2 separate regions of the Homo sapiens genome follow, and region 1 is linked to region 2. The links are contacts of gene promoters, found by promoter capture Hi-C in human tissues and cell types (Jung and others, 2019). All regions are on one chromosome and are shown on one strand. Each heading gives the region's core, a stretch centred on a gene start or on the middle of the fragment in contact. The rest is flanking DNA. Distances are from core to core; before and after follow the strand shown. Region 1 has its middle 36 kb from the start of LINC02606. Region 2 holds the start of H6PD (hexose-6-phosphate dehydrogenase/glucose 1-dehydrogenase).

Region 1 (3,641 bases), core at 122-2,621, 230 kb after region 2:
TTAGCCAGACGTGGTGGCACGTGCCTGTAATCCCAGCTACTGAGGAGGCTGAGGCAAGAGAATCGCTTGAACTTGGGAAGCGGAGGTTACAGTGAGTTGAAATCGCACCACTGCACTCTAGCCTGGGTGACAGAGCAAGACTCTGTCTCAAAAAAAAAAAAAAAAAAAAGTTTTAACTTTTCATTAAGTAGAATTCTATTTGTTCTTTAATGGATCATACTTTTGCTACTGTATCTAAGGAACCTTTGCCTAACTCAAGGTTACAAAGTTTTTTCCTATGTTTTCTTCTAGAAGTTTTGTGCTTTTAAGTCTTACATTTAGTTACATTTAGGTCTACTTTGTTTTTTTTTTTTTGAGACGGAGTCTCGTTCTGTCGCCCAGGCTGGAGAGCAGTGGCTTGATCTCCGCTCACTGCAAGCTCCGCCTCCCAGGTTCACACCATTCTCCTGTCTCAGCCTCCCGAGTAGCTGGGACTACAGGCGCCCGCCACAACTCCTGGCTAATTTTTTGTATTTTTAGTAGAGACGGGGTTTCACCCTGTTAGCCAGGATGGTCTCGATCTCCTGACCTCGTGATCCGCCCACCTCAGCCTCCCAAAGTGCTGGGATTACAAGCGTGAGCCACCGCGCCCAGCCCATTTAGGTCTACTTTGAATTAATATTTTTATATGGTACAGGGTGTGAATCGAGACTCATTTTTTCACATATGGATATTCAGTTGTTCTAACACATTTGTTGAAATGACCATACTTTTCCCACTGAATTGCCTTTGTTTTTTGTTTGTTTGTTTGTTTTTGAGACAGAGTTTTGCTCTGTCGCCCAGGCTGGAGTGCAGTGGTGCAATCTCGGCTCTACAGCCTCTGCCTCCTGGGTTTGAGTGATTCTCCCGCCTCAGCCACCCGAGTAGCTGGGATTACAGGCACCCAAGTAGCTGGGATTACAGGCACGCCTGGCTAATTTTTGTATTTTTAGTAGAGACGGGGTTTCTCCATGTTGGCCAGGCTGGTCTCGAATTCCTGACCTCAAGTCACCTGCCCACCTTAGCCTCCCAAAGTGCTGGAATTACAGGCGTGAGCCACTGCGCCCGGCCACACTGAATTGCCTTTGAACCTTTGTTGAAAATCTGTTGTACTTTTTAATGTGGGTCTATTTCCGGGTTCTCTATTCTGTTCCATTTATCTATTTGTCTTTACATCAGTACCATACTGCCTTGATTATCATAGCTATATAATAAGACCTGAAATCAGATAGTGTAAGCCCTCCTACTTTGTTGTTTACCGAAGTTGTTTTGGCAATTCTATGTCCTGTGCATTTCCATTCGAATTTTGGAATCAATTTTGTCCATCTCTTTTTTTTTTTTTTTTTTTTTGAGACAGAGTCTGGCTTTGTTGCCTAGGCTGGAGTGCAATGGCATGATCTCAGCTCACTGCAACCTCTGCCTCCAAGGTTCAAGCTATTCTCCTGCTTCAGCCTCCCAAGTAGCTGGGATTACAGGTGTGCACCACCATGCCTGGCTAATTTTTGTATTTTTAGTAGAGATGGGATTTCACCATACTGACCAGGCTGGTCTCAAACTCCTGACCTCAGGTGATCCGCCTGCCTCAGCCTCCCAAAGTCCTGGGACTACAGGAGTGAGCCACTGCGCCTGACTCAATTTTGTTCATTTCTAAAAAAAAAAAAAAAAGAAAAAAAATCTTGCTGGAATTGGGGTTACATATCTGTAGATCAACTTGGAGTGAAATTTTGGAGAGAATTAACATCCGAACGGTATATTTTTGTTTTTTATGATTTTTTGGGGTTTTTTTTTTGTTTTTTTTGAGACGGAGTCTCACTCTGTCACCCAGGCTGGAGTACAATGGCACAATCTTGGCTCACTGCAACCTCCACCTCCCGGGTTCAAGCGATTCTCTTGCCTCAGCCTCCTGAGTGGCTGGGATTACAGGCATGCGCCACCACGCCCGGCTAATTTTTTGTATTTTTAGTAGAGACAGGGTTTCGCCATGTTGGTCAGGCTGGTCTCAAACTCCTGACCTCAGGTAATCCACCAGCCTCGGCCTCCCAAAATGCTGAGATTACAGGCATGAGCCACGGTGTATTTTTAAATCAAGATATAATTTATATACCATAAAATTCACCGCTTTAAAATGTACAATTTAGGCTGGGCATGGTGGCTCATGCCTTCCAAAGTGCTGGGATCACAGGAGTGAGCCACCACAGCCAGCCCGACATCAGCTTTTAAAACACGTGTATTTGTTCGTTCTTCCTCAAAGTACACCACATATTGCCTGGGAGTGTGGCTGGCTGGAGTTTGGATAGTCGCTGAACTCTAGAACTGACGGGAAACTTAGAAAAGGTACGGTGCAGAGGTTGCAAACCGGCTGCCCAGAGGCCAACTTGGCAATCAGATGTGTTTGTGTGGCCTATACAGGATGTCCTGAAGGTGTGAGCCAACGTTTCAGAATTTGGTAGCTTTCACAAACATTTTTTTAAAAATCAGCCATCTGGCAGCCCAGGCCCGCACCCCTCCTGGCCGATGGTGGGATGTGCAGGGTGGAGGAGCCTCTTCTGCAGGTCCCCTTGGTGCTGCCACCCACACAGAGCCCCAATGCCCTAATATCTGCCCTCTCCCCTGCCTGCACCACTCCCCAAAATATGCCTTTTAGAGATAAACCCTGGGGAGGTTCCCTAATTTTCATGGGGCAAATTGTGCACGCTGACCATGAAACCTGTGCTTCTTCCCACTCTGTGGACGTCCCCTCCCTCTACAGTGACCAACTCAGTCTGGTTTGCTTAGTCTCTGGGTTTCCGTACAGAAAGTCCTGTAGCCCTGGAACCCTCCCAGTCCCAGGCAAACCGGGATGGTTGGCCACACTACCGCTCACTTCCTATCCTTCTCCCCCACAAAAAAATTAAATAAGATAAAACAAAATGTAATTTAGGCAGGGTGTGGTGGCTCACACCTGTAATCCCCGCACTTTGGGAGGCCGAGGTAAGCAGATCACTTGAAGCCAGGAGTTCAAGACCAGCCTGACCACATGGCGAAACCCCCTTCCTACTAAAACTTCAAAAGTTAGCCAGGAGTGGTGGCGCACCCCTGTAATCCCAGCTACTCAGGAGGCACAAGAATCACTTGAATGCAGGAGGCACAGTCTGTAGTGAGCCGAGATTACATCGCTGTACTCCAGCCTGGACAACAGAGCAAGACTCTGTCTAAAACAAAAAAAAAAGCAATTTAATTAAAAAGCAGAGTTTTGTTGAACTAAGATTTCATCTCCTCTCTGGCCTGCTTGCTGGGCTAGACATGGAAGCTGCCAGCGCCATCATCTCTGATTTTTTCGTGGTGGAAGAGGTGAGTTGTGCCGTCCTTCACCACAGTGACCTCCTGGGGCCCAGCGCCTGACTCTGTGTCTGTGATGGAGGACACCTCACATAGGATGGGCCCCAAGTCCCAGCCGACAGCAGCACACACACGCCTTGCTGCCAGATGGCAGCGCGAGCCTCTGTTTATGATTAGGTGGCAGACTACACTCGGAACCCAGCAAGCCGATGATGAAAGCTGTTAAAAGAACATTGTTATATGACTTTTCATAGTTTCCCAAGTAAATATTACACTCACTGCTGCTTGAATTACTAATGCTTTGG
Region 2 (4,032 bases), core at 541-3,040:
GGATTTCATCATGTTGGCCAGGCTGGTCTCGAACTACTGACCTCAGGGGATCCACCTGCCTCGGCCTCCCAAAGTGCTGTGATTACAGGCATGAGCCACTACGCCTGACCTGGGGCTATTTATAAGAAGCCCTCAAGGTAGCAGATCACCCTCTGATGGCCACATGGAGATCTGGGAAACGAACCCCCGGTCATGCCTCTGGACACCTGCCCACTTCTATCTGTGCCTTCCTGGGCCCTGGTTTTCAGAGCTATGTGGGTGCCTGACACACTCAGGGCCACAGAACATGGGAAGGGCTCTAGGCCAAGAGTCCCGGCATCATTCGAGTCTGCTCTGGCCCGCTCCTGCCCTAAGCCCTCCTGCTCACTTCCAGCTGTGGAGGTAGCCCAGAGAGTGCCTGGCTCCCTGGCTCCCCCCTCTGCCAGGCCCACTCAGTGTGACCTAAATCCTTGCCGAGGCTTGGCAGCCCTCTGCGGGCGCCCGGATGGCCTCTGGCCTTGGTGACGGTGAGGCCCAGCTCCCCTCAGTTCCCAGCCTTCCCGGAACCCCTTGCCTAACATCCTGTGTGGTAATCATGCCTGTTGGCCCCATTCAGTCCTGCCGGCCACTGCCAAGTTGCCACTGCTAGTTCCAGACGCTCCCACCTCTAATGGAACCATCGGGAAATAAAAAGCTGCAGCACAGTTTCTCTCTCAGGTCAGAATCTCCTCCCAGCACTTTGGGAGGCCAACGTGGGAGAATCACTTGGGCCCAGGAGTTCGAGACCAGCCTGGGCAACAAAGTGAGACCCCGTCTCTACAAAAAGTTGAAAAATTAGTCAGGAGTGGTGGCGAACATCTGTGATCCCAGTTACTTGGGAGGCTGAGGCGGGAGGATCACTTGAGCCTGGGAGGCGGAGGCTGCAGTGAGCTGTGATAGCGCCACTGCACTCCAGCATGGGTGACAGAGCGAGACCCTGTCTCAAAAAAAAAAAAAAAAAAAAAAAAGAAAAAAAGAAAAGAAAAGAAAGAAAAAAGAAAAAGTGGGGAGCAGGTTGGGGAGCATGGTGAGGGCCACCTACTGCCTGATAATGGTGGGGGACAGGAAGGGGACTGAGTGCTCTGAGAGGCAGCTGATCCCGTTTTCTCACTTAAATACCTCTCACCCTACAGAGAAGCCCTGATTCCATTTGCTGTCTTTCTTAGCAATGTCTTAGCAAAAGTCTTCTATTTGCCACACGGGTCCAAGCTTCCGCTTACTAAGCACCCAAGTGCCAGACAACCCCGGAGGCAGGTACTCCCATTGTCCCCACTGTACAGATGAAGAAACTGAACTCAGGGTCACACAAGTGATAAGGGGTGGCAGAGATCTGAAGCTGTGCGCGGAGGCGTGGCCAGCGTGTGCGCTCCGACTTCTAAATCCCTACTCTGGATATTGAAGACGGGAAAGACCGAGCCGCTCATTCTACAGATGGGGAAAAGCGAGGCCTGAGGAGTCCCAGAGCGGGTGCCAGATCGTAGGGAGCAGCCAGCACCCCGGGTCCCCTCCACGACACAACCACGTCCCTCGGCCACTTCTGGGTCCCGCGCGCGTCTCGGACGCGGCAGGACAGCTCTAGGACGCACGGCCACCAGGGGGCCGAAGGGAAGGGCGGGGGCGGAGGCTCGGAGCTGACCCACCGCCTCGCCCCGGAAGCTCCGAGGCCCCGCCCCGGCGGCCGCCAGCGGAGGGCGTGGCCTCGCCGGCGCCCCCGCCCCGCCCCCGCCCCCGCCGCGCGCGCCCCCGCCGCGCGCGCCCCCGGCCCGGGCCCCAGTCTTGCTGAGCGCAAGGCGGTGGAGGCCTGAGGCCTGAGGCCTGGGGCGGGGTGGCGGCCGGGCTGGCCTTGGCCTCGCGCCTTCCCCTGCGGCCGCCGCGGGCTCCGCGGGCGGTATCGGAGTGTCGTGCGGCGCGTGGCCGCGTGACACGCGCACTTGTCGGAGTGACGGGCCCTGCGGAAGAGGAGGTGCGGCCCAGGGCGCAGGGGAGCCCTCGGGAGCGGGCCCGGCCCTCAGCGCCGCCCCGGCCGTGTCCCGGAGGAGCGGCCTGCGCCGCCGCGCGAGAGGAAGTAAGCGCCCCCCGCCGGCCCCGCCGCCGCCCCGGCCCCGGCGCCTCCAACCCGCGCTGCCGCCGGGCCCGAGGCCGCGCCGAGCCCCGGAGCCTGCGCTGCCAGCCCCACGGAGCCTGGGGCTGGCGGCTTTGGAACTGCTCAGGAGGCGGCCAGGCTCCCTCCAGGGTCGCCCCGAGCGGCCGAGCTGTCCTTTCCCTGGGCTTCCCGGAACTGAGTTCCAGGAGAGGGGGAACTCCGAGATTTCCCCCGGGACCTGCTTAATCTTTGGCATTGATTGGCCCTCGGGTTTCACATAGCGTTTCCCGTACCCGGATCTAGTGAACGGTTTTCCAGGGGCAAACCTCTCTGGATCTCTGAAAATCAGCTCACCCAACCTTGAATGCTTAGCCAGAAGTGAGAACTTCTGGAAAGAAGTGTCCTTGCCCACTCCCCCTGCACCCACAACAGGCCCATGGCTCATGAAAGGCAGCAGATGAGGGAAAACTGGTGTCAAATGGGCATATTTTTTATTTTATCTTTTTACTTTTTTATATAAAAGTAAAAAATCTTTTACTTATAAAAGATGGGGTCTTGCTTGGTTGCCCAGGCTGGAGTACAGTGGCACAAACACGGTTCCCTGCAGCCTCCACCTCTTGGGCTCAGGCCATCGTCCTGCCTCAGCCTCCGGGGTAGCTGGGACCACAGGCGCACACCACCACGCCTGGCTAATTTTTAAACCTTTTGTAGAGACAGTGGTCTCACTATGTTGCCCTGGCTGGTCTCGAACTCCTGGGCTCAAGCGATCCTCCTGCTTAAGCCTTACGAAGTGTTGGGATTACAGGTGTGAAGCACCACGCCCAGACAGCGTATTTTAAATTATGCATCATATCCCTTTAATTTTTCATCATTATGATTGGAAGATCATGAAAAGCTGTCTGAGTTTTTCCTTGGCATTTTTCTGTGGTTGATGGTTAGTTGTTGCCCAAGCTGGAGTGCAATGGCGCGATCTCGGCCCACTGCAACCTTCTCCTCCTGGTTCAAGCGATTCTTCCACCTCAGCCTCCTGAGTGGCTGGGATTACAGGCGCGTGCCACCACACCCGGCTAATTTTATGTATTTTTTAGTAGAAACAGGGTTTCACTATGTTATCCAGGCTTGTCTTGAACTGCTGACCTCAGGTGATCCACCACCTCGGCCTCCCAAAGTGCTGGGATTACAGGCATGAACCACCGCGCCCAGCTGGTTAGTTGGTTTTAACAGCAGTTCAAGAAGCTAGCAAGAAGGACTTCATTCGTGAAGCTAATGGTTTAATGATAGAAACTAACATTTCTGGCCGGGCCCAGTGGCTCACGCCTGTAATCCCAACACTTTCGGAGGCCAGGGCGGGCAGGTCACTTGAAGAGTTCAAGACCAGCCTTGCCAACATGGTGAAACCCCGTCTCTACTAAAAATACAAAAATTTGCTGGGCATGGGGGCAGCGGATGCCTGTAATCCCAGCTGCTGGGGAGGCTAAGGCAGGAAAATCGCTTGAACCGCCCTGCCTCCGGTGACGGAGGTTGCAGTGAACCAAGATCGTGCCACTGCACTCCAGCCTGGGTGACAAAGCTAGACTTCTCCTTAAAAAAAAAAAAAAAAAAAAGCAGCTAGGATTTCTTGGGTGCTTACTGTATGCCAGGCATTGTGCTAAGTACCTTACATGCTTCCCATCGATTTGTTTTCCCATTCTGTGGTTGAGGTACAGAGAGGTTAAATAACTTGTCTGAGGGTACATAGTTACTGAGTGGCAGGGATTTGAATCCAGAATATTCTTATGTAACCAGTTCTCCAAAAACTAGCCCTTGAAGGTCTTCCACGTTTCAACAAAGCAACTGAGGCTTATACATGATGTCTTCATGATGTCAGAAGGAAGAACTGTGAAAGGCAAAGCGGACCCGGGAGGCAGAGGCTGGTTACCGCAGTTAGTGTT

The links. Contacts are between HindIII fragments. The study calls those that stand out against the background at their distance.
Region 1: a contact is called between a fragment that was not itself captured here and the fragment with the promoter of H6PD in region 2, in 1 of the 25 tissues and cell types used here (liver).

What each region holds. Positions count from the first base shown.
Region 1 is chr1:9,463,415-9,467,055 of GRCh38, forward strand. No RefSeq gene overlaps it. Among named protein-coding and RNA genes, the nearest start is that of LINC02606, 36 kb to the left of the region's middle. The HindIII fragment of the contact is 9,148 bases long and covers 1-3,641 here.
Region 2 is chr1:9,232,984-9,237,015 of GRCh38, forward strand. H6PD (hexose-6-phosphate dehydrogenase/glucose 1-dehydrogenase) reads left to right here and starts at 1,791. Exons shown (of 5, transcript NM_004285.4): 1 at 1,791-2,083. RefSeq lists a silencer at 1,644-2,203. The HindIII fragment of the contact is 6,904 bases long and covers 169-4,032 here.